Linked DNA regions of Homo sapiens: all the other regions are linked to region 5. Evidence: promoter capture Hi-C in 16 types of primary human blood cells and fetal thymus (Javierre and others, 2016). All regions are on one chromosome and are shown on one strand. The core of a region is centred on a gene start or on the middle of the fragment in contact, and the rest is flanking DNA. Distances in the headings are between cores, read along the strand shown. Region 1 overlaps SMIM10L1 (small integral membrane protein 10 like 1). Region 2 overlaps CD69 (CD69 molecule). Region 3 overlaps LOC124902877 (a long non-coding RNA gene). Region 4 has its middle 52 kb from the start of LINC01252. Region 5 holds the start of MAGOHB (mago homolog B, exon junction complex subunit).

Region 1 (4,977 bases), core at 2,354-4,853, 560 kb after region 5:
GCTCTCCCGCACCCTGCTCGCCTTCTTCGAGCTGGCCTGGCAGCTGCGCATGAACTTCCCGTACTTCTACGTCGCGGGCTCGGTGATCCTCAACATCCGATTGCAGGTACATATTTAGAGCCATGACTAAGCTAACGGCCTCCGGGGCCAGCATGATGGCCGACTCCCAGGGTCCGTTGCGGCGCGGCGGAGCAGCCAATGGCGAGCCCCACAGTCTCGCGAGAGTGCTCAGGCGCTCTTCGTGGCTGCCCTCTTAGCTGCTAGCGGAGCTCCTCAGGGGGCGGCCGGGAGCCTACAATCCCTAGAAAGAGAATACGCTGTTCCGGAAACAGAACTGCAGTTAAGACCCTCGAAAACATCTAAGAAAGTGTGCATCCTAAAACACCTGACGAATTTCAGAATGTGACAAAGCGCAGAGGATGCATTATTTCAAAACAAAACAGAAGGCTAAAATTTGCAGGAAAAAGAAAATCAGTAAACCGGGAATCCTCGGACTGGATTGTAAGCAAGATTTCAATGAATAAGAAGCTGAAGGTATTAAGGCTGTGATATAGAAGGTACATATTTCATCCCACAAGAGAAAACAATAATAATCAGAAATTTTCGGTGAAAAAAACGCAAAACTGTACAGGAAAATCATCCTCCAAGTACCAGACATAAAATGCTGCAAGCTTTTGAACTAATGGCGAGAGTGTAAGAAAATGGGCTCTACTTCAGTGATCCTGTGGCAGGACGTGGATCAAGACTTGGAACCGCAGAAAACGAAATCCCATAGTAGCACAAAGCTTGGCTGTTCAGTGAATAACATTTAAATAATCGTAAAATACAAATGTTGTTTATGGTTTTTATTGTTTAAGGGCATACTTAATTATGGTTACAAAGTGGAGTGCAAATGTTATTTACCATGTTTTAAAAATACAGCCGGAAAATACAAGTGGGAATGTTGAAGGAGGGCGGGGGAAGTAAATGGAATGGGGGTTATGTCCTTATAAAGTGGAAACTTGAAAGGTACTGTCTGTTGTTGAGTGGGGAAAGACATTTTTATTACTTACAGGGTAGCCATAAAGTTTCTAAAACGGTAATATATTAAAGAGGGAGAGTGGTAGGGGAGAACAGTATGAAGTCAACAGGAAATGGCTAAAGATGGAGAGCTCAGGTAGAATAGTTTAAAAAATGAAAATTGATAGAGTACCTGGTGTATTTGAATACAGCCTAGAGAGCTTTCATTTTCCAAAGAGTGTGGGGATAAATTAGTGAATGCATATTTTTCAAAATTAAGAAAACAGAACATATAATTTTGAACGCTGAGAAAAATAAAAATTTAAAAACTACACTGTATACACGGTATACCTCAACTGTGAATAATAGTAGTCATGTAAAGTCAGTCATAATTATGTAAATACTGAATACTGATTTTACAACAAATGATTCTATAACGCTGGGAGGATGGGAGAAAAGAGATGTGTGTGTGTGTAATGGTGGTGAGCCAATCAAGATCTGATATAGAAAAATGCAGAAAAAGGAGTATACACATGTTTTCTTCGGATTAAAAAAACTAATAATAAATCACCAAGAGTGGTAAAGTTTTAAATCAAGATCTGATATAGAAAAGTGCAGAAAAAGTAGTATACGCATTTTTTTTTTCAGGAAAAAATTAACTAATAAACCACTAAGAGGGGTAAAGTGTTAAAATAGTTGCATTGTTCTATATTCCACTCATTGTGTCCAGCAAACAGTGTTCTATGGCTTTAAGTAGTAAGCATCTTGCCCCGTCCAACACCATGTCTGGCCTAGGGTAATTGTTCTTTCTAGTCTTTATTCTTTGTCTCCAGCCAAACTCCATTTGGGCACATTCTCCTATAGCCTTTTCTACCTGAAGATACTCTGTGTTTTAAAGCTAAGCTTAGGTGGCGCTTTTTCCATTAAATTTTTCCTGGATTCCACTGACCATATAGGAGCTCACTTCTTTTAATCCATAAGGCCATTTTCATAGGTTGCCTTATTTTTCCCTAATCGTGCATCAACTGTCTGTTTTATATACCCAAGACAGGTTTCCTAGACTGCGATAAGCCAAAACATTTTAGTCTAAAATATCAGAAGTGTAGTTTAATCAATGAAATAGTAATACCAAGGGATTTAGAATCGTGGACATCACTGTTTCCCAGAGCACTGATGTCCCAATTTGTAACACAAAAGACTGTCTAGTCTTAATCCTGAAATGGTGACAGAGTAGGATGCTCCATTTGGGTGACTATGTGAACATATTCCTATAACTTTTTTCCTCACATCAGTCATTTGTTAAACCGAAGATGAAGAAACAGACTTTGTATTTATTACATCCTCCAACATAATTGGCAGCTCTGTGAGGGAAGACACTATATCCTATTCAATTTTACACCCGGTAGTAACAGTATGTGTGTGTACTGTATATATACATATATATATACATACACATATATAAATTTAAGTAGTAACTATATATGTATATATGTATAGTTACTACTTACTATATATGTATACAGTATATAAGTATATATGTATAGTTACTACTTACAATATATGCATAAAGTTACAGCTTACATTTACCTCGTAATATATGTATATATATATATTAGGAGTTAAATGTATTAGGAGGTAAATGTAAACTCTGTGGTTTATCATTTATTCACAATTGCTCTTAATTCTTGGGGTATAGTTTGCCTCCTACATGATGCAATTCAGTGAAATTCCCAGGAGACAAAACAAGATTTTGACCTGAATAAACCACTTATTGTTGTAATTCACAAGTGAGTTTATTCTTCCTGGCACACTTCCAGGTAATATCCATTAGGCTAAGGATTTTGTTTGTTCACTGTTCTATCCCCAAGCCTAGAGCACTGCCCAGTGCGGAATAGCTAATAAATATTGTTGAATGGATAGATGAATGGCAATTTTGTTGGTATGCTCTACATAGTCAGCAGTCAATAAAGGAAACATATATTCGTTCCTGATAATAAGATGATTCACTTTATTGCCCATAAATTGGGCTTTTTCAGGCCATCATGCACGTTGATTGATCCAGAGATCCCTCAAGCATGAAAAAGCAGAGACATAGGTGGTATAGTTATTATCAATAGAGATAAGAAATGTAGCTGGCAAAAAAAAAAATGGGAAACGATGCGTTACAGCTTATTTTAACTATAAAAGGAAAACAGTGAACATAGCAACATATGTAACCTAAGGGATAGGGGAAAAGTTGTTTTTTTTTTTTTAATTCTGGGTAAAAATACATGTGATTACTTGACAAATAGCATATCATTACCATCAGCATCATTTTTAAAATATATTGAGTTTTTAATACCAGGAACTATGAAAAACTATTTATATACATGAGCTCCGTAATTCTCACATATACCCTGTGAGGAAAACATTTTTATCATTTTTCAGAGAAGCAAACCGGGATTTAGAGAGGTTAAGTAAATTCCTAAGGTCATGATAACCAACCAGACCTCAAATGAATCTCCAGTAATTCCTAAAGTTATATTTCATAAGGAGTTCAATTTTCTTAAATGTGTAGATAATTACAAATAATTCTGTTTCTCAAATTTCTGGACAGAAATATTACCTGGGTAATAGTTATTTTTTTTAACATAACTATTGAGGGTCTTTCATACTAAAATATAAATATTTAACATGATTTGATATGTAAGTTCAAGTATTTTATACTCTCTGCAGCCTTAAACCTATTGGCTTATTTTATTAGAGGGTTGGTGGGATTGAGGGATATGGGAGCAAAGGGAGAGAGAGGAAAGAACGTTGTCCTCAGAATGGAAGGGAAACACTTTCCTGTGCTACCCAGAGTAGAGATCAGACAATGTTAAATTTTGAAGCCATGTCTGTTCCTGTCCTGAGGATCCCTAACTAAATTTTGTTAGAAAATCTTGCAGTTTGCTTTTAATGGGAGATCTTTCTGGCAGGACATCAATAGCTTTTGATAGCGTCAAGAAGAAAATAAAGTTACATGCAGAAGCATAAAGGGGTAGGATGAAAGTTGAGGAATATAGGGACAAAAGATGAGGGAAAGGAATATCCTAATACTTGGAAGTTTGAGCATGGAAAGTAGTCTAAAGACGACTTGGGAAGTTCCAAGAAAATGAACCAAGAAAAGAACCTCTGCAAGAACTATGAGAATTCCCAACAATTGGGTTGGATTGATTCATATTAGTCTATTACTTGGGTTACCTTGAGTGTGGGGATTCTTCTTGCAGTTTTAACACTTGTACTATGGTCTGAATGTGCCCCCCAAAAATTCACATGTTGGCATTTAACCCCCAAAGTGATGATCTCAGGAGATGGGACCTTTGGGAGGTGATCAGGTCATAAAGATGAAACCCTCGTGAATGGGATTAGTGCCTTTATAAAGGAGACCCCAAAATAATTCCCTTACCCCTTTTGCCATGTAAGGTTATAGGGAAAAGTCATCTATGAACAAGGAAATGAACCCTCACCAGATACCAAATTTGTGAATGCCTGGATCTTGGACTTCCCAGCTTCTAGAACTATAAGAAATAAATTTCTGTTGTTCATAAGCACCCATTTTATGGTATTTTTTATAGCAGCCTGAACAAACTAGACTTAATAGGATTTGCTCAGCAGGATTACCACCAGGTCAAGTCATGAGATCTTTTCAAAATATAAGTAAACCTCCCCTTACCCCTACTCTCCACAAATACAAATTTCAGCAGTGCTCTTGGGACAACTAAAAGGCCCAAGGACCTTCCCAAAAGCCTACTACAAATGAAGAAACTATGGAAGTCTTAGTAGCTTAATTGCAGGACATCCCTGCCAGTTTCTATCCTGATTAGGGATCTGCAATGAACATTACAAAATCTTCACCATCTCCATGGCTTTCAACACCAAGCATATGGACTTAGCCACTGTAAAATAGTGGCATGCATCAATGAACAATAAAGAGAAATGGAGATCATTCATATTATT
Region 2 (5,349 bases), core at 2,712-5,211, 860 kb before region 5:
GATAGGCACATGCCACCATGCCCGGCTAATTTTTGTATTTTTAGTAGAGACTGGGTTTCATCATGTTGTCCAGGCTGGTCTCGAACTCCTGAGCTCAAGGGATCCACCCACCTCGGCCTCCCAAAGTCCTGGGATAACAGGCATGATACACTGCACCTGGACAGGGAATTCTTTATAGCAATGCAAAAAAAGTGTAATACAAAGCTTCTTCAGGTTGTTAGCAAAACCAGTTTATTCGACTATAGTGCTGAAGTTTCCTTTTCTTCTTGGCTGAGGACTGAGAGCCTCTCTTAGCTTCTTAAGATCAACAGTCATTGTATTATTGATTTGTTGTCTAGGTACATGATAGATGATAGATAGATAGATAGATGATTGATAGATAGATAGATAGATAGATAGATAGATAGATAGATAGATAGATGATGGGGGTGGGGAGAGACAGATTCCTTTATCAATTATACGTGTTAGAATGTCTTCCACTCTGTGACGACTTGTCATTCTGTCCATGATGTCTTTTGAAAACTAGAAATCTGTAATTTTAAGTTTATAATGTGCAGATTTTTGTTTGTTGGTTTCAAGTTATTGGTAAGTATATGTAAAATAAGGAGAAAATAATGTGAACTTCAGGTCTCAGAACCTAGAAATTTGGAAGCAAGTCAACTTATGGTAATGTAGTTCTTTAGCATAGACGAAACACTTTTACATGCATTATTTTAATTACATTTTAAATTTGGCATTACAAATATTGAGAAATATGAATGGGGTGCAGCATTATCAAAGGTTAAGTTTTACTTTTCTAGATTATGCCATTTCCTTTATAACTAGAAAAAATACAAAATGTAGTGTTGAGAGAGTGGTGACTGCCACATCTTTCCACAAAAGAAACCAAGAATCATCATCCACACACACACAAGCCACTTGAGTGTAAAAAATAACCAAGATATATTTTAAAAATTTATTGTAAATTGACAAATTATAATTGTATCTATTTGTGGGGTATAATGTAGTGTTATTTGTACACAATGTGGAATGATTCAGTCAAGCTAATTACCATATCAATCACCATCAAATACTTATAATTTTTCATTGTGAGAACATTTGAAATTTATTTGCTTCGCGATTTTGAAATGTGCAATATATTATTGTTAATTATAGCCAGCAAGAAATTATTTTTTAATGTCCTTTGACAATGACTTAACACAGAAGTGCAGTAATCTCATACAGTCACTAGATGGCACTGCAGCTTTTGCAACAGAGATCTTTAAGACAGGCAGGAGGGGTTCTTGAAATAAACTCATTTTTCGTATTTGTAATTGGTCACCAGACAGTAGAGTCATGCTTTAAATAATAAAACTATTCCCTTTAAGAATTATATATTTGTATCTATTTAAAGAAAACACTTTTTCTTAAGAATAAAATAATTTCATTATAGGAAAATTCAAAATTGGCCGGGCGCGGTGGCTCACGCGGGTAATCCCGGCACTTTGAGAGTCTGAAGCCGGCGGATCACTTGACGTCAGGCGTTCGAGACCAGCTTGGCCAACATGGTGAAACCCCGTCTCTACTAAAAATACAAAAATTAGCCGGGCGTGGTGGTGCGCGCCTGTAATCCCAGCTACCCGGGACGCTGAGGCAGGAGAATTGCTTGAACCCGGGAGGCAGAAGCTGCAGTGAGCGGAGATCGAGCCACAGCATTCCAGCCTGGGCGACAGAGTGAGACTCGGAAAAAAAAAAAAAAGGAAAAAAAGAAGAAAGAAAGAAAGAAAAAAGAGAAAAGAAAAAGAAAGGAAAGAAAGAAAGAGATCCAAAATTATAGAAAAACATAAAGAAAATAAATACTTCCTATATTCCTCCTCCTCAGGGAAAACCACTGTGTTTACTTTAGTAGTTTTACTTTCTGTCAGCATATAGAAATATAAAACATGTTTTGTATATTTAATATTGAACAGGAAATAATCCTATTGTATATATTATTTTAAACTAGCAGCAATAATAGTTTGAGTATTCTTTCATATACATAAATGTTCTTCATTATTTTTTAATGTTGGGATAGCATTTCATCATGTAGGAGCATTATATTTATTTAACTAAATCTTTGGTTTTGGACAATTAGGTAGCTTCTGATTTTTCACTACTAGAAATATCCCTTTGATAAACATTTTTGTGGTTATGTCTTGCACATCCAAGATTATTTCTTTAAAATCTCCCTCCCTCCCCAGTAAGTATTGTCAAGCTGCTTTCCAAAGGGTAAAGGAAACCAGTTTACACCATCACCAGCAGTCGTTCTGGTCATATATTTCCCAATATTTTTCCCTGAAAAATCATTTACATTTTAATTTCAGTTATAATACATTTTCATGTGCAAAATCTAATCAAATTATGAAAATTGACAGCAAGCTTAAAAATATCATTTCTATATTAGTATCATACAATTTTTAAGTAGTTGAATACTGACTATAGCACCTAACAGTTCAATGGCATTTTAGCCTTTTTAAAAAGTTTTATCCAATCCCTACAATTATGTGAAATGTGCAGCTGATGTATTCCCCTTTCCAGAGGAAGAAATTGAAATTATGTTGAAAAAGCAACGCAAAACACGGATAACTGATAGTTTTATTTTACACATATTTATGTAACTATCCAAGATGAATGTAGCCTACAGAGTTAAAATTTTGATAATTAGCTAAAGGTTTGAATACAGGAGTATATCTTTAATATGCTTCCATAGCACCCTACGTTTTTCCTATTATAACATTCATCACACCATGTCAATTCATCTTGTTGTTTGTTTTACAAATAGACCACGAATTCCACAAGGCCAGTTGCCATGCGGAATTTGCTGAGTATTTTAACTCTGGTGTCCACCATAGTAGTAGGTGCTTACTTATAACTTGTGAAATGAAATTTTTAAAAGGCTTTCCAAAAACAAATACAAATAAGATATATTACGTAGAAATAGACATGTCGTGTAGAAACGCGGCTTTATGCCAATACTGGAAGTTTGAAGACATAGTGTTTCTAGTTCTAATAATCATCATGAGTATTTAATACATGCCTATGGTGTACTAGGGAGCCAGATAATGTTTTAAGTTTGTTTTCATGTACTAACTAATTTAACATCTAACTAATTTTAGCTGAATTTTGAACGAGTTCTGATAAAATAGCTAGTCAGCCCGCGCGTGGCAGAGATGAAACTCGGGCGGTCTGGCCCCCGTGCTTTGGGTCTCAGCAGCTCCACGCTCCACATAGATGTTTTGTAGGATCCTTAAAACAGAAGTGCAGTAATCTCGTATAACCACTAGATGGCACTGCAACTTTTGTAACAGGGGACTTAGCCGGGGGCAGGAGGGGTTCTTGAGACAAACCCATTTTTTATATTTGTCATTGGTCACTTGCAAGTAGAGTCATACTTTAAATAATAACATTATTCCCTTTAAGAATTGTATATTTTTTATCTATTTAAAGAAAACAGTTGTCCTTATGAATAAAATGACTTCAAATTATGTGTAAAAAATAACTCTGTTATCCGTGTTTTGCGTCGCTTTTTCAACATAATTTCAACTTCTTCCTCTGGAAAGGGAAATACATCAGCTGCTCATTTCACATAATTATAGGGATTCAATAAAATTATTTGTAAAAATGATAAAATTCATTGAATTGTTAGGTGATACAGTCAGTATTCAATGACTTAAAAATTGTGTCATACTAATATAGAAATATTTTTAAGCTTGCTCTCAATTTTCATAATTTGATTAGATTTATGCACATAAAAATATGTTATAACTAAAATATTAATCGCAAGACATTGTTTTCTAAGATGACTCGGGAGTAGATTGTTGGTAATGATAGAATATTACCGCTAGGAGGCTGCTTGTTTCTTTTTTCCCACAGCTGTGGGAACTCAGGAGCACAGAGGTCATTATTTTTCACTAAGCAGTGTCTGAAATCCACATTTCTGTTTGCCGTTTGCCAATAGTTTAGAGATACCATACACATCATACATTTCCAACAAGCAGAGAAGAATATTGCAAATTACATTTATAAAACAATTTTGAAGGTAATCAAATGTATTAGGCTATTCTTGCATTGCTATAAAAATATCTGAGACTGGGTAATTTATAAAGAAAAAAGGCTTAATTGGCTTACGGTTCTGCAGTTTTTACAAGCATAATGCTGACACTGCTCAGCTTCCGCGGAAGCTTAGGGAGCTTTTATGTATGTTGGAAGGTGAAGTGGAGTGGGAGCAGGCATGTCACATGGAGAAAGCAGGAAAGAGAGAGAGAAAGAGAGAGAGAGAGAGAGAAAGTGCTGCACACTTTGAAAAGACCAGATCTCCTGAGAACTCACTCAGGTGCAAGGAGACCATCAAGAGGATGATGCTAAACCATTCATGAGAGATTCGCTCCCATGATGTAATCACCTCCCACCAGGCCCCACCTCCAACAAAGGGGATTACAATGCGACATGAGATTTGGGCAGGGACACACATCCAAACTACATCATTGAGTTTTTTGCTGATTGAAATATCCCATGAAGATTATGCCTCTTTTCTATATATTGAATTATTTTACATAAATAACTAAAGTGTATGTAGCACCTCAGAATTGAACAAGATACTTTCAGAGCATTGACTATGAGGAGTAATTATTACAGAGCATCTGCTATATACAGAAAAATGGATATGGATACATACACCCTTTAGCATATAAGCATATGAAAACAATTTGATATGTATAAGCTATTATAAAACTAAGGGTTTTACTCTACATGGGATTTTTTCCTAAGTTATAGTAACTGTTTTCTGCTTTCTCATATAGTATATACTTTTTAATGTATTTTGAAGGAATGAACTTTCTTGGAAACCATTGTGTTTATTCTACTTTTATTTCACATATATAAAAACAGCTTATAATTGTACTGAACACAAAATACAAACAAATACATTTTATTGCACATAAAAATATTTTAAATGAAGTATTGAAGTATTGCACGTAATAGAATTGATTTAGGAAAGTCACAAACCTATTATAAGACTAGTATTATTCTAGGTCTGAAGATTACAGAATATTTCCTAATAGAGATTTGCCACATCACATATTGCACATTTTCCAACACTATTCTATGTCTTGCAAATATTCCTCATAGTCTTTGCTTATGTCTTTTCTCTGTAAGACACTGTATAAAAGATTATAAAGGCAAAGAAATATGTACCATCGAAAAGGACCTGTCTACAGCTGAGGAAGTAAAAAAATAAATACATGATCATCCCATTCTTTTTGGGGAAAAATAACAAAGTAAATTGGCAAATTTCTCTAAAAAGAGAGAAATATTACAAATCTTAGTTTCATA
Region 3 (5,232 bases), core at 1,576-4,075, 930 kb after region 5:
TGGGACATTTCTCCTTTGATGTGCCCTGGGTGCCTTAAGCAACTTAGATATTGCTCAGGTAGGGTGAGGGGAAAATGTATTTTCAGGTTGTATTATTCAAAACAAAATAATATAGACTAAATGACTTTGAAAACATATTTATTTCTTACAATACTGGAGGTTTGAAGTCCAAGTTCAAAGTGTCAGCTAGATTGGTTCCTGGTGAGGGCTCTCCTCCTGGTTTGCAGGCAGCCACTTTCTCTTTGCATCCTCACCTGGTGGAAGAGAGAGACAGTGTTCTCTTTTCTTACCAGATCCATCATGAGGGCCCCACCCCATGACTTCATGTAACCCTAATTACCTACCAAAGGCCCATCTCCAAATACCAAACACATTGGTTGTTAAGCTTCGACAAAGGAATTTGGGGAGGACACAAACATTCGTCTACAGCATGGGTGGAAACCCATTTCTTCCTCACCGTCTGTATGGATTGCACGCTGCAGCCATCGAGACAGTGGGCATGTTCTCCTTACAACTCGATCTGACTCCCCTAGAAGAGGGGGCAGGGAAGGAGGGCAAAGCTGGGAGAGATGAAGAATATTAAGAAGAGAATAGGGTAGCCAGATTTAGCAAATAAAAATATAAAATGCCTAGTTCTGAATTTAAAATATAAAATGCCTAATTCTGAATTTCAGATAAAGAACAAATAATTTTTTAGTGTAAGTATGTCCCAAACTAAGCATGGCAAAGGACATGTTTATGCTAAAAAATTATGTATTATATAATAATAAATTATTATTATTTTCTGCAAGTCACATTAACTGGGCATCCTGTATTTTTATCTGGCAACCCTAAAAGAGAAGGGCCAAAAACTGTTGAGAAAAGTCAGTGGATTCCAGGAGGGACTATTGCTGGATTTCTGGACTGATGCTCGCTTTATAATACTTAACTGTTTTTAGCCCCTTCCCTCCCTCTCTCCCTCCCTCCCTTCCTTCTTTTCTTTCTTTCTTTCTTTCTTTCTTTCTTTCTTTCTTTCTTTCTTTCTTTCTTTCTTTCTTTCAGATAAGCTCTCACTCTCTCACTGAGGTTGGAGTGTAGTGGCACAATCTCAGCTCACTGTGGCCTCAACCTCCCAGGATCATGTGATCCTCCCACCTTAGCCTCCTGAGTAGCTGGGATTGCAGGTGTGCACTACCATGCCCAGCTAATTTGTGTATTTTTTGTAGAGATGGGGTCTCACTATGTTGTTGAGGCTGGTCTTGAACTCCTGGGCTCGAGCAATCTGCCTGTCTCAGCTTCCTAAAGTACCCAGATTACAGGCATTAACCACCACACTCAGAAACTTCTATTTTTAAAAGCCATGGTCTCTTTAGGTGTTCTCTATCACTCTAAGTCAAAACTATTCCTTAAACATACAGGGCTCGAAGTGTTGATCTCCTGGAGAGCCTGGTCACCTCCAAGCCATAGGGCTTACAGTAGGCTGTCTTCAAACAAGCAAGGAAGTAATAGGCTTTCTACCGCAACTCAGATCTAGGTTTCAGGACTCATTCTAGGGACAGCTGCAACTGCCAAGTAGACTATGAGGAAACTTTCTCAGTGTTCTAGAAAAAAAAAAATGGAGGAGAAGGTGGGGAGGGGGAAGGAGAAAGAGAGTTAAAACAAAACAAAGAGAAAGACGGAGAAAATTAATGATTATATCAGGCCTCTCCCAACTCCCTCCTCTTTCCCTGGAGCACAGGACTAAATGTTAAGAAGAGAAGGATGAGATTTCTACCATAACTGAGGAAAACTACAAAACATGAGAGTCTGAAGAGACAATAAGGAAGATAGAGGCCAATCCTGTAATTTTTCAGATGAAGAAAGTAAGGCCCAGGGAGAAGAAATTACTGTATTCAGATCACACAGTTATAAGGATTCGAGCCAATACTGGATCTTAACCCAGTGTTTACTATTCTGTGCAGTGTTCCATTATTCGTGGATTGCTAACAATGAAAGAAAGCATAGAAATGATATAGTTCAACCTCCTTATTTTAAAATAAGAAAAGATATATTGAGAGAGGTCAAATAATTTGCTCAAAGTCACAGTTGGCTTTTTGCTACCAATCCAAGCTTCTTTTCCCTAGTCTTTGCATATACACACAACAATGTTTTGAATAATTTCAAAATTATTTCAAAAATTAACCCAGAGTAAATGTACTTATTCAGGAAAGTAGTGGAAATAGGAAATATAGCAAACATAAAAACACCTCACCCCTATGACTCAATTTATACTGGTCCATGAACAGTTAACAGTTTTCAACACTTAACACTTCTCTTCCCGTGCTAGCTGGCAGCCAGAGTTATTCTGCAAAACTGTGTTTCCAAGTCCTCAAGAGGAATACATGTGTAAGTGTGCTTTAAATTTGCAAATGTTTTATCTTTGAGATCCTTAAACAGTAACACTATTAATCTTCATCTTCAAGCTGCTAAGTTTGTTATGATATGTTTATACGTGTGTGTGTGTGTGTGTGTGTGTGTGTCTACGCAGAACTTTTTTTGGCTGGTCATGTGACTCCTAGAACTGTATCCTTCCATCCACTATGCATTTCCCTATGTAAATAATATTAGCTTTCACTGGTGATGGCAACAAGACAGAAGGAATGAGGTCAAGGAGGAAATAAATTTGGATAGAAAGAAGCCGTCAAAACCCTGTGAATAAAATTCACAAGCGAGTTTCGGTGACTCATAAGAGCACAGAGAGGAGACACAGGGATTATTCAGGAGCAGGTTCCTGTAGGGTAGCAGGAGCTGCACAGCAGGAGTGTGGAGGGGCACAGGTCAGCACCAGGATGCACCAAGGGCACCTGGGAAGTGCTGAGGGCCAGGCCACACTTAACTCGGGTCTGTGCCCTGCAGTGGGAAGAAGCCTCAGAGTATTTTCATCCTGCGAATCTCCTCTGTGCAAGAAAAGACCAGTTGATGTCCTTGAAAACTTTCCTATTTGACCAGTTCATTCTTATTTCAAAATTTTATATTATTATATTTTTTAGAGACAGGGTCTCGCTATGTTGCCCAGGCTGGACTCGAACTCCTGAGCTCAGTGAGACTCCCACCTCAGCCTCCTGAGTTGCTACCATGCCCAGCTTGCCCAGTTCATTTTTAATGAGGCCAAACACATTGGTCATGCAGCTCACAAACAAAAGGGAATGTCTGTAGTTCTGGTCAGTCACAAACTCATTGTACTTTACAGAGAAAACTCCATGCAGAATGTTGAAATATCATCCTCTAAAGGTTGACTCTAAGTATACAGAAGCAGTGTAGGGGCACAGACAGCTCAGTTGAGCACTCAGCACATCAAACAAGAAAGCATGTGGTGGTTTCCCTCTACCCAGAGCAGGGTCTGATACGGAGGAGCAAGCCTGGACTTTGTCCTTGGGCAAATTGCCCCATTAGGGGAGGAAGGAGCCCACTCTCCAGACTTTCTGGTTTGAAGCAGTACCTGGGTCTGAGCAGAGTGAGGAACACTTCCTGCTACAGCCAAACTAGACTAGCCTGGGCCCTGAGATCCATGACCTCACATGTGCCTTTTTCTCCAGGCACACTGGAAAGCTTAGTCCCCCCGCCCCCGTGACTGTCTGTTCCCGAGATAGTCCCTTTGCATGGAGAATCCGTGCCCATCCCACCCACCCCCACACCATAAAAAGTCAATGTTAGAAGGTTTGAATGGATTTAGTGATCATGCACTCCAACCCTGCCTATCTGTTCATCAAAGTCCACTTCAAATACCACTTTATAAAGACATTGTGGTTCTTCTGTCTCCCAATTCATTATTACTTTGGTGCTCTGTTATGGTATACATCACATTCAGTCTTGTATTAGAGTTGTTTGTGTACATATTTTCTGCCCTCACTCCAAGGCCAGCTTAAAACTTATAAATCTTAAAATATTTTGGCCTCCTAAAAATTAAACAGTATCATTCATAGTTTCCACTATTAAATATTTTATGCTTTTGGAATAAAATATGTCATTCTTCACCCCCTCTCCCAAAAACCCCAAAACTTTGTTCCTCTGCTTTTCTAGTTTCCCGTGTGCTGCTTAGTGGGTTTTCCAGCAGCCCTGGTCCCAAGCACATGAGGGACTGTTAGCATTTTCAAGACAAAAGTATCCTTAACTCCTCTTCATGAGCCTGCGAAGATTAAACACGGAGCTCAGAACACAGTATGAACACAATAGATGTATGATGAAATGAATAGGGCTAGCATTAACTAATGAGAGCTCCTCAATGATGAGCAAGAAGAAGGTGAAATCATGCCATCCAAGGCTTCCCAGTGCCCCTGGAGACCACACAGCCCCTTTACACAGGAAATGACGTGATTCCTGATAAGCAAGCAGTACACACTGCACAGCTTCCTTCCCTTCCTCCCCCTGCCACTCAGCACCTTTGGCAAATAGCGGCCTGCCTTCAGCCTTCATTAGGAAAGCCTTCATTAGGCCTGCCTTCTTCTCTTCATTCATGAGAGAGTGGCATTAACAGTGCACAAACTAATGCTTCTTCAAATTTTTCTGGGGTCTGCTGCTGCTACTGCTAAAATCCGCTTGCCTTCGGACACAGTTTCTCAAATGGCTTAAAAGCTTCTCTGCTTTTGATCCCTGCAGCATCACTTTCTACTCCCTCAATCAGAAACCAGAAGCTACCCACCCCCATTTCCTGTGTTCATGATAGTAGAAAGCAACAGAGAACAGTTGGCCCCTGAGCTGCCAGGTTGTGGGCTGGGTAGGGAGGATCCATTGCAGGAGCATTGGAAAGCCTTGAGCACTCTGCCCTGCCTGTCCACACAGCAGCACCTTCACAGCCTTCTAGTAGTTCTGATCAGATTTCTGCCTCTTAAAGCGGCCCCACAGACTAAAAGCCATCATCTGGAATTTGGAGTAAAAGGGCCCACAGGAAATGAAGCACTCTAAGAAAATTCAGCTGGGCAGGTATTTTAAGGTCACTGACTGACTCCAAAGTGAAGGTAGAACCCATATTGACCGCAATTCATCACACTTCTGTAACTTCAGAACTCACTGCTGACTGGTGGAGAAGGTTGCAATTGCATTCAGTCCGAATCTCTGAACATATTATTTAGAAATATTAGCTTATCCAGCTGCCTACGGAGCTTCCCATCTGGGCTTTCAGTTGCTACATTCTCTAAAGCCGTATCTGACCCACACCTTACTAACACTATGTGCTTCTACAGCATTCACCCAGTGTTACAGCTCTTTTAGAATCTG
Region 4 (5,097 bases), core at 1,529-4,028, 880 kb after region 5:
TCAATAGACGGAAAACTTGATATCACCAATAGTAAATGTCCTCTTACCGCCCAAATGTCTCTCCCACCCAATAATTAATGTGATCCTAGACTATATTAGCAGAATTATCAAATCTAGACTCTAAAAGATAATGATTCAATTCTATTCTACACCAGTCAAGACATTCCATGAGAACTACAAGAGGAAAATATCAAATACCATCACATTTACTTCTATACCCATATCTATATCTGTCTACGTGCTACCACAAACTATGGACACTCCTGGCATTGTATTTTTAAGTTGATGATTATACAGAATGTTTAAAAACCCCTGGGCTACACCATGAAGCAGATTTGATCAGTGGAAGCCATTTGAGCTGGTTTCATGTCCTTTTGCCATTTTCCCATAATTTTATTTGTTTGGCTCCTTTTTTTTTTCAGTACAAACATACATACACACACCAATTACATTTACATCTACACCTTTATCTGTATCTGTCTACCTACATACTAAAAACCATAAATCTACTGATACCTTCAATCCCAATCTAGTACCACAGATCACAGGGATCATTCCAGTTTCTTCTCTTTCTATACTTGCAATTTCCTTCTCAGATAGTGAAAAACCTGGCTTCCAATAACCTTAAATATATTTACCTATTTGATCAATCCCAGTGTATGTAACTTATCTCCCATCTTCCCTGCCACTCCCTCCCTGCTCTGACTCTGATTCCCATTGCAAGCCACTCTCCCATAAGATGCCTTCCTTAACTGGCTTGGGCTCTGACACTCCGCATCAGGACACACTCCTTCCTCACATTAACACTGTCTTCACCCAGTGCAGGTTCTGACACCCATACCAGGCTATGTTAGCTCTGTACCACCTCCCATACCAAAGATGGTTTAGGATTGAATTGTTCAGGAAGGGATGGGAAAGGAGAGAAAGTGAGAAAAAATAAAAGAAATCAGAAGAAAAACTAGACTTTTGGTAGAGAAGAAAAATAGATGAGGGTAGATTAGAGACACCAGTTAGGAATCTAGGAATCTTGCATTCCAAGTAAAGGGTAATGATAGTTTTATAGGACTGTGGCAGTGAGGTAGAAGTGAATCAAGTTGAGAAACGTTTAGGAAGTAAAATGGATGGAACTTGATGATAGATTCAATATAATGCATGAGAGAAAGGGAGAGAGTCATGTTGAGGATGACTCAACGGTTTCCAGCTTCATAGCTTTATGGATAATGATACCGTTGCTGAGCAAAGGAACACTGGAAAAGAACCATATTCTACATATCCACCAATTTCATTATTTCGTACATAGCATTAATATATCTCCCTTGTATTATAGTTATTTATAGGCATATAGGTTTCTGATATCAAGGCTTTTCAGAGGTTTGCAAAGTAAGGCCCACGGGTCAAATTAAGACCTGTTTGGCCCATAGCTAAGAATTGTCTTTACATTTTTAAGGTTGTTAAAAGAAAAAAAACAAAGATAAATATGTGACATAGACTGTATGTGGTCAGCAAAGTCTAAAATGTCTGCTCCCTGACTCTTTATTTAAAAAGTCTGGGGATCCCTGCTTTCTATGGTTCATTTTGTTTTATTAGATAATGAACACATGCTAATAAAGTTGAATTTAATACTTAAAAACAAGATATCTTCCAAGGAATTTAAAATTGTAAAATTAATACATAGGAAGCATAAGTTTCATGTGTATAGCATATAGAAAAATGCATAATTTTGAAGTTCAGAAAATGAAAAAAATTTGTTCTTAGTCAACAAAAATTCATAAAGAAAAAGAGTTTGTAAAAATGTGAAGGTTCACCTTGGATGAACACGTTGGAAGTAATTCAAGCATTATTGAATTTTTGTATTGAGATGAATGTGTTTTTAATCTTTCAAAATTATATATTATGGATGATAAATTATTTTCTCCTAAACACCAAGTTTTATTGCTTATAGTTTCTCAGTTTCACCTTTACTTTTTTAATGATAACTAGAATATCATTAACACAGAATGTTAATGAGTGAACCATGGCTCAACAGTTTAGTCAATGTGAAGCCAAATTCCAATGCCTCATTTATGATTGCACTTGTATAGAACCCAATAATTTTTTGATGTAAAACTATTGCTTCACCTTATCTACAGACCCCCACCACAGTCCACTTTGTGCCATGTTCTGTAGCTTGTACCTAGAATTAAGGTTTGGATATTTTTGCTGCTGGCTGCCTTTGGTAATTAATTTTATTTCGTCTAGTTTTCTTAAGAGGCAAGGTTACAGGAATTGCCATGTAAATGAATATGCAAGTTAGTAACTTAAGCTTATAGCCAATGCACTATATTTTTAATAGGATAGTAGCTGGATTGATCTGTTTTGCATACAGGTGGTTTTATACAAAGCATATTAGGCATGGGGGAAGGAGCAAAAAAGGAGGGAGAAAGACAGAGACTCTGTCCTGTCCCCTCCATCCAATGAACCAAACTTTAAACACTTAGTTTACGGCAGACTTCCTTTATGATGCATTTTCTTATCCCTCCCTTATCTGTTTTTGAGTTTAGTGTTAACTGTTTTTTTTTAATACCCCACCATATGTTGTTCAAATGTCTATCTATACAACTGTCACACTTCAGGACAGTTGGTCCACATTTCTACTCCTGCCTGCTAGACTGAAGACTCCTTAGGGAAAAGACTGCACCTCCTCTATCTTTCTAGTCCCCTTACCTAATACAGTGCCTACCACGAAGCAGGTAGGTTTGTAAGATGAAGGAATCCATGGATAGTTTGTAATTCTTGGGAGATGACAATGCCTAGTGGGAGTGGCCAGAAGGATTCTTTAAGGATGAAAAAGAATGAAGAGTAATAAGGGGAGGCTGAATGTTGGATGTTCTGGGAGTCACTCCTTCTCCTCTGTGGTTTCTGACCATTGAGAGATCAAATGGGGATGACAGCAGAGATGGCTAAGTTGTCCCCACTATCTATTCTCTCCTTCTTCCAAGGTGATGGAGTCCTCAAATTTTGCCTAAATACATGACTACCCACAAATGAGACTTCAATTCCCAGCATCTCTTGCAGGTGGGTGTGGTCATGTGACTGACATCTGGCCAATGGGATGTAGGCATGTGCTCAATGGCAGTTTCTAGGCCATTGCTTCCTTTTCTCTCCTCATCCTCCAACCTCGATTAAAAGGTCAAGGGCTACATCCAAGGAATGGTGGGGCAGAAAGGAGGAAGGAGCCTGGTATCCCAAGGACTTCATAGGGCAGAGCTGATACACAAGCTTCATAATACAAAATCTGGACTATTGCCTGAGAAAGAAATTAATATTTTTTCATCCTTTCTCTCTTTTCTTTTTCTTTCTTTCTTTCTTTTCCTTCTTTCTTTCCCTCTCTCTTTCTTTCTTTCCCTCTCTCTTTCTTTCTTTTCTTCTTTGTCTTCTTTTCCTTTCTTTTCTTTCTTTCTACCAGCTTTTCCTAGCTTTTTATTGTGGTAAAATAGACCTAACCTAAAATTTACCATCAAAACCATTTTTAAGCATACAGCTCAGTGGCATTCGCACATTTACACTGCTGTGCAGCCGTCACCACCAGCCATTTCCAGGACTTTGCCATCATCCCAACCTGAAACTCTACCCATGAAACACAAGCTGCCCAACTCCCACCTTGTTTCCCCATCCCTGGCGGCCACTGCTTCTGCTGCTATGAACTGGACTGTTCTAGGCACCTCACATAAGTGGACTCACACAATATCTGTCCTTTCATGTCTAGCTTCTCTATTTAATTTTTTTTAATAAAACCTTTTAAGAGACAGGGGTCTCATTATTTTGCCCAGGCTGGTCATGAACTCCTGGCCTCTGGTGATCCTCCCACGTCATCATGACTGACTTCTCTATTTAATTTTTTTTTCTTTTTTTTTTTAAGATGGAGCGTTGCTCTGTCACCCAGGCTGGAGTGCAGTGGTGCAATCTCGGCTCTCTGCAACCTCCACCTCCCAGCTTTCAAGCAATTCTGCCTCAGCCTCCCGAGTAGCTGGGAATACATGTGCATGCTACCACGCCCAGCTAATTTTTTGTATTTTTAGTAGAGACAGGGTTTCACCATATTAGCCAGGATGGTCTTGATCTCTCGACCTTGTGATCCGCCCACCTCGACCTCCCAAAGTGCTGGGATTACAGGCGTGAGTCACTGTGCCTGGCCTCTATTTATTTTTTAAAGGTGGGTGGGAACTAAGTGGACCATAGAGGAGCTTCCCGCACAGGTAAAGACAAGGTCGGGTGTACTGAGAGACGCAGGAAAGTGGGTCAGGGTGTAGGGCTGGAGGGCAGCTATGGCCTCTGGGCCTGGACTATGGCCTCTGCCCCGGGGCACACACAGAGCAAGGGCTGCCCAGAGGAGCCAAGACTGGCTGTCAGCCTGGCCCTGAGCCCAGGGGGAAGGCAGTGAGGGACAGAGGACAGAGTACACAGGTCCTGTCTTTGGCCATAAGCAACCCGAAATGAGGCTTAGTCTCCTTCCTGGAAGCCCACTCTGTGCCTCACATGGTGGGCCCCAGCGTGAAGTATGTGACTGCGTGACTCCAGTTCCTATGTTGACCAGGATGTTCTTGAACTCCTGGGGCCAAGAAATCCTCCCACCTCAGCCTTCCAAAGTTCTGGGATTATAGGTGTAAGCCACTGCTCCCCACCTGGAATGCTGTCTTTGTACCAGCTCCCTGGGCCTGGTAGAGAGGCACACATTCTGCTAAGAGACTTTTCCTGACTTCCCTAACCCTAGAAGGGATTTGTCCCTCCTTATTTTACTCATGGCTGGATTAGAGTTCCATTGTTTTTGAGGCTATTTTCCTGGCCAGTGCAGGGTCTCATTCATTTCTGTAGTGATCATGGTCTGCACTGAAGACAGGATCAGTAGATGTTTGCAGACAGAATGAATAAACCACTAATCAGTCTCTTAATGCTTGAATGGACTTGCTACTTCCTTGTTTCGATTTGTGTCTGTACAATCCCCTCACATGGATAGTACAGTAAACACACACGGACTCCCTCAGATGTGGTAACTAACACGGAATTCATCTTAAGATATGCAAAGAAAGTATCTTACATCTTTATCCGCCTCCTGATCTT
Region 5 (5,210 bases), core at 1,420-3,919:
GCTACATCATGAACTAGAAAGAGAATCTGCAAAAGGCACTAAGATTCCTTTAAAGTTTGTTATATGTCTGTATCGGTGCTAAGTGCCTCACCCAGAGCATTTAATCTAATCTGTAAAACAATCCCAAAAATCGGGTTTTATTCTCTCACCTATTCATAGGAGAGAAAACAAAGTTAAGTAACTTAACCAGGGTCACACAAGATTCAGATCTAGATCTACTTTCTTTCAATACTCAGGCTTTCCCCACTACACCAAAATGTTCTCTTTTAAAAATTTTTTTCCTTCAAATGTATGCATGCAATTATAATGCAGACATTTTAGAATTATGACTAGGAAGCATACAAACGATGCTTCTGGATCAAAGTTGATGAGTTTGTTAGCTAGTTTATATTTAATTTTAATCCATCATGATTGCTGTATTATCTGATGTATGCTTCCCCTTATGGCTAGTCAGTTGCCCAGACACAGCTATAATGTGCAACAGGTACTCTAAAATGATAGAAATGACAGTCTTTGATGGCTTGGCACCAGGCACAGTGGCTCATGCCTGTAATCCCAGCAATTTGGGAGGCTGAGATGGGTGGATCACCTGAGGTCAGCAGTTAGAGACCAGCCTGGCCAACATGGAGAAACCCCGTCTCTACTAAAAATACGAAAAAATAGCCAGGCATGGTGGCCCATGCCTGCAATCCCAGCTACTCGGGAGGATGAGGCAGGAGAATCGCTTCAATCCACGAGGCGGAGGTTGCAGTGAGCCGAGATCGCACCACTGCACTGCAGCCTGGACGACAGAGCAAGACTCTGTCTCAAAAAAAAAAAAAAAAAAAAAAAAAAAAGAAAAGAAACGCGTCTTCGGGAGGCTCAATATCACCAATGGAAGTATGTGTAACAGTGTAGTGGCAGATACATTGATTAGAACCACTGTTCTAGCATAAAACTTCCCTGATAATATTCAGGTACTTAATTCATGTGACCTGCTAAAAGTGATAGGGACAAGCTTGATGGTGTTCGCAGGCAGAGGAACTGAAAATAATACTACATAAAGAATAGATGAATTCAGGTAAATTTAGCTGAATTTATGGGGACGGTAAGGTTAAATACAGTGATTAAGGTTTCTAAATAATTGCAGGGCTGGCCCGGTGGCTCATGCTTGTAATCCCAGGACTGTGGGTGGCTGACGCTGGTGGATCCCTTGACCTCAGGGGTTTGAAGCCAGCCTGGGCAACATGGGGAAACCCATCTCTACAAAAAATAACATAACATAACATAACATAACATAACATAACATAACATAACATAACATAACATAATTAGCTGGGTGAGGTGGCGTGGGCCTGTATTCCCAGCACCTCGGCAGGCTGAGGTGAGGGATCACTTGCACTAGGGAGGGGGAGGTTGCAGTGAGCTGAGATCGTGCCACTGCACTCAGATCTGGGTGACAGAGTGAGACCTTGTTTCAAAATAATAATAATAATAATAATTGCAGGACTGTAGTTAACGTGAGTTCTGCCTGAAATGCTTGATACTCTTCTCCTTTCCTAATATACGTTCCTTCTCTAATTTTTTATTCTTGCTCTCACAGAACATTGTCCAAAGCCTGCTTATAGGACTTAATATGCATACTGCTTTATAGTTAAATGTCTGTGCCTCCCACCAAGACAAATCTGCTTTAGTTAAATTTGTCTTACTCATTACTGTACCTTAAAATTTTGTATTTGCTTGTTGTCCAGCACAAAACGTGCATTCAAAAAAACCCAAAAAATATATATCCAAATGAACTTTCTTGTTGCAGGTAGGCAAGATCAATGTAACATTCTCTAAGGATAGCGCTGTCAGAAAACACACTGTTGCACACTACTTGGGTAGCAGTTTCACCTCATCCTCTGCTCATACTGCTCTGGAAGTCTGTTTTTTTCTCTCAAAGGCCAAGTCTCTCATTTCGAGACTCATCTCAAGAGTGCCGTCCTCTAAGAAGATCTTCCTGACTCCCTCCTGTGGAACTTTACCTCTCCCCTCTTGCTTGGTACTCTTCATGCGTCCTATGGTGAACAATTACACGTAAACACCTAAAACATATTATTATTCTCATTTGTTAACACGTTGGGCTCCTCCCCTTCAAAGAAAACACACAGCCTAAATGAAAAAAAGGTACTGGTCACCACAAGATTTTATTCATCCACTGGACCACCCGCTGGTGGGGGTGTTTTCAAAAAAGTGCTAGCATTTTCAATCAGGGCGACGATCTAGAGTCCCTTCTGGTGCACTGTTACAGAATTCTGATTACTGTAGGTTCAACTTTTCAGTTTGTGACAGGATTAGCTTTAATTTATTGCAATTAATTCTCTTTCATTTATAAAACCAACTTATGCCTCCTCTATTCTTAAGCTCCTATTTCCTTCGAGGGAAGCAGTGGCCTCCGCCGCCTGTACCCTCCACACCACCCGGCCTCTCGGTCTCGCTCCCCTTTCCCAGCACCGCGTGCCGTGGGCCTCTTCTCACCGTCCGGCCGAAATTCGAACTCCAGAAACTCGTGCCCAAACTTGCCCTTGTGCCCTACGTAGTAGCGCAGGTAGAAATCGCTAGCCACAGCCATTTTTGTACCCGGGAAGCCCGCCGAAAACGCAGCCAACGTGTCCCCCGGCGCCTTGCAGTGACGTCATCGCGCGGAATAAGTGCGTCACCACAGGCGCTTCTCTTCCTCCTGCAGTGCAGCCCTAGACTAAAGCGTGAAAGCCGAGTATCGCGTGAGAGTCCGGAGGCGCTGAAGGGAGGGTCGCAGCGCCGTGACTTTCGCTTTACTAGGAATGGAGGCACATTGTTTTCAAAATAAAGATTACATTATACTAGCAAAGATTAGAAATGTGAGCATATGATAGTCTTTTTTATGGACTTAGAGCTAAAGGTTTGCAAGTCACTTTTACTTTTCTGGTCTCCCAATCCTTGCGGCGTTTGTGAGGTGGGTGTGGCTCTATGCCCCCTTTAACTGTGAGCTAAATAAAGATAAAGCTTAGAATCGAAATGGCAGACCGGGAATATAAACTATTTTTCTTACTTAATTTCTAACAGGGTGCTTTCCCTTTGGATAGCGATTGGTAGTTACCCGGGACCTCTAAGCCTATAATAATAGAGACAAAGTCAAAGGAATCCAACTCTTAAAACCCTCACACCCCCCACACCTGAAAAACCCTGACAGTCACCGTGCTTTTTTTAACAGCAGAACTTCTAAGGTTCTTAATTCATTCAATAAGGGTTAACTTTTAGTAGCCTGTGAAGTTTTGGCAATTTGACTTACGATACAATAATGGTTTAGCCCATTATTGTTTCTCGCCAGATAGAATTAAATTGGGGGAATGAAAGAATGCTCCAGTGTGGCGTAGTTTTTAAGGTAAGGGAAAGACTTTTACACAAAGTTTCCTTTTCAGATATTATTGATCACCCTTTTGTTATCAACACACAGAGTAATCCTATCTGTCGGTTGACAACCTTCAGTGATTTTTAGTAGAAAGTGGTGGAGAGAAGACCTGGGATTCAATCCCAACACTTAACAGCTAACTAACCTCGGGCAAGTGACTATCTCTAAGCCTGTTTGTTCATCAGCCTAATGCATATACAGCAATCTACATTGCCAAGCTCACAGAATTCTTGAGAGATCTAATGAGATAATATGTAAAATAAGCTTTAAATTTTATAAAACATTAGTTTTAACAAACATTTCCTATGTGACAGTTTGAAACTAGAAATAAGCCATTTGATCTGGTAGTCTAGAAAAGAAAGCAAACACGTAAGGCGAATACCAGCACAAGGGAGCAATTGCTATAATTAAGAATATATGTGCCATCCTGGCCAGCATGGTGAAACCCCGTCTCTATTAAAAATACAAAAAAATTAGCTGGGCGTGGTGGCGCGTGCCTGTAATACCAGATACGCGGGAGGCTGAGGCAGGAGAATTGCTTGAACCCTGGAGGCAGAGGTTTCAGTGAGCTGAGATCGTGCCACTGCATTCCAGCCTGGGCAACAAGAGCGAAACTCTGTCTCAAAAAAAAAAAAAAAAAAAAAAGAAAAAGAAAAGAAAGCCTATATGTGGCCGGGCGCAGTGGCTCATGCCTGTAATCCCAGCACTTTGGGAGGCCAAAGGGGGCAAATCACCCGAGGTCAGGAGTTCAAGACCAGCCTGGCCAACATGGCAAAACCTTGTCTTTACTAAAAATACAAAAATTAGCCAGGTTTGGTGGCACGTGCCTGTAATCCTAGCTACTCAGGAGGCTGAGGCAGGAGAATCGCTTGAACCCGAGAGGCGGAGATCGCGCAGTTGCACTCCAGCCTGGGTGACAAGAGCGAAACTTCGTCTAAAAAAAAAAAAGTGTGTAAAACATGCCGGTAGTACAGCAGAGGAAGCAAGAGCATTCTATTGCAGAGTAGGGAAATTTGAAAAAAGAGTATTGGAAAAGGCTTGTCAACGGAAGTGTTTGAATTGGACCTTGAGAAGTAAGTTCTGTGTATGTTCAGTGGGATGAAAAAGCATTCCAGGCAGAAAATGACCCGAGCAAAGACAGTGGTGTGAAAATTCATGTTTGGGGAACACTAAGAAATTCGGTATAGCTAGAGCATAAGGTTCAAGTAGAATGACTAAAAAGGCAAATTGGGCCACGTTTCCTTGAGTCCATATTAGTAGTTATATAACTATTAATATAGAAAAATGAATCAGTCCCTACAATGGGCCACCATTTTGGAAAGTACGTAAGAAACAGGAAGCACCATGTTTTACCACTAGGGTGACTAGCCGTTCCAGTTTGACCAGGACTGTGGAGTTTCCTGGGAAATGGGACTTTCCATACCTGGAAACACCCAGGCAAACTGAGATGGGTTGGTCACCACACTTACCACAAGAATAATTCACAGAAATTTGAACACTCTATTCCGTAGTATCTCTGGAAATATCAGCTGTAATCCATTTTGTTGAATTATATGGAAAGCCTCATTCAATATCTTAGATTCCCTAATGTCTCTCCTTCAGGTTTTTGGCACATGTGCCAATGTTCATCTTCATGTTTACCTAAATAGAACTATGGATACCAGAATGTGTAACTATATAAATAGAGGTTACAGAATGCACAAAGTATTAACATCTTTGTTAAGTGGGCCAGTTACTGTCTTGATCTCCAAAAATGACATAGGGGTTCAAGACTATAATCCTACCTGTTTGTAAGATA

Evidence for each region. The method cuts DNA at HindIII sites, captures the fragments that hold promoters and counts their contacts. A CHiCAGO score of 5 or more calls a contact.
Region 1: a contact is called between a fragment that was not itself captured here and the fragment with the promoter of MAGOHB in region 5, in 7 of 17 cell types (naive CD4 T cells, M0 macrophages, erythroblasts and 4 more). The highest score is 7.5, in naive CD4 T cells.
Region 2: a fragment that was not itself captured here is called in contact with the fragment with the promoter of MAGOHB in region 5 in 1 of 17 cell types (fetal thymus); the score reaches 12.3 in fetal thymus.
Region 3: a contact is called between a fragment that was not itself captured here and the fragment with the promoter of MAGOHB in region 5, in 4 of 17 cell types (naive CD4 T cells, non-activated CD4 T cells, total CD4 T cells and 1 more). The highest score is 8.9, in naive CD4 T cells.
Region 4: a contact is called between a fragment that was not itself captured here and the fragment with the promoter of MAGOHB in region 5, in 1 of 17 cell types (total B cells). The highest score is 6.6, in total B cells.

What each region holds. Positions count from the first base shown.
Region 1 is chr12:11,171,446-11,176,422 of GRCh38, forward strand. SMIM10L1 (small integral membrane protein 10 like 1) reads left to right here. Exons shown (of 1, transcript NM_001271592.2): 1 at 1-4,571. The coding sequence ends at 118. PRH1-TAS2R14 (PRH1-TAS2R14 readthrough) reads right to left here and starts at 166. Exons shown (of 5, transcript NM_001316893.2): 1 at 1-166. It overlaps PRH1-PRR4 (PRH1-PRR4 readthrough), which reads right to left and starts at 180. Exons shown (of 10, transcript NR_037918.2): 1 at 1-180. It also overlaps a transcript of PRH1 not described here. The HindIII fragment of the contact is 3,407 bases long and covers 1,901-4,977 here.
Region 2 is chr12:9,747,621-9,752,969 of GRCh38, forward strand. It overlaps CD69 (CD69 molecule), which reads right to left. Exons shown (of 5, transcript NM_001781.2): 5 at 4,866-5,349. Among named protein-coding and RNA genes, the nearest start is that of CD69, 11 kb to the right of the region's middle. RefSeq lists an enhancer at 3,093-3,387 and a silencer at 3,848-3,927. The HindIII fragment of the contact is 472 bases long and covers 3,726-4,197 here.
Region 3 is chr12:11,541,273-11,546,504 of GRCh38, forward strand. It overlaps LOC124902877 (a long non-coding RNA gene), which reads right to left. Exons shown (of 3, transcript XR_007063210.1): 3 at 122-254. It also overlaps the pseudogene RNU7-60P. Among named protein-coding and RNA genes, the nearest start is that of LINC01252, 4.1 kb to the right of the region's middle. RefSeq lists an enhancer at 3,234-3,293. The HindIII fragment of the contact is 1,479 bases long and covers 2,087-3,565 here.
Region 4 is chr12:11,493,282-11,498,378 of GRCh38, forward strand. No RefSeq gene overlaps it. Among named protein-coding and RNA genes, the nearest start is that of LINC01252, 52 kb to the right of the region's middle. The HindIII fragment of the contact is 956 bases long and covers 2,301-3,256 here.
Region 5 is chr12:10,610,940-10,616,149 of GRCh38, forward strand. It overlaps MAGOHB (mago homolog B, exon junction complex subunit), which reads right to left and starts at 2,670. Exons shown (of 5, transcript NM_018048.5): 1 at 2,500-2,670. The coding sequence starts at 2,593. RefSeq lists enhancers at 1,727-2,606, 2,391-2,790, 2,607-3,484. The HindIII fragment of the contact is 2,009 bases long and covers 996-3,004 here.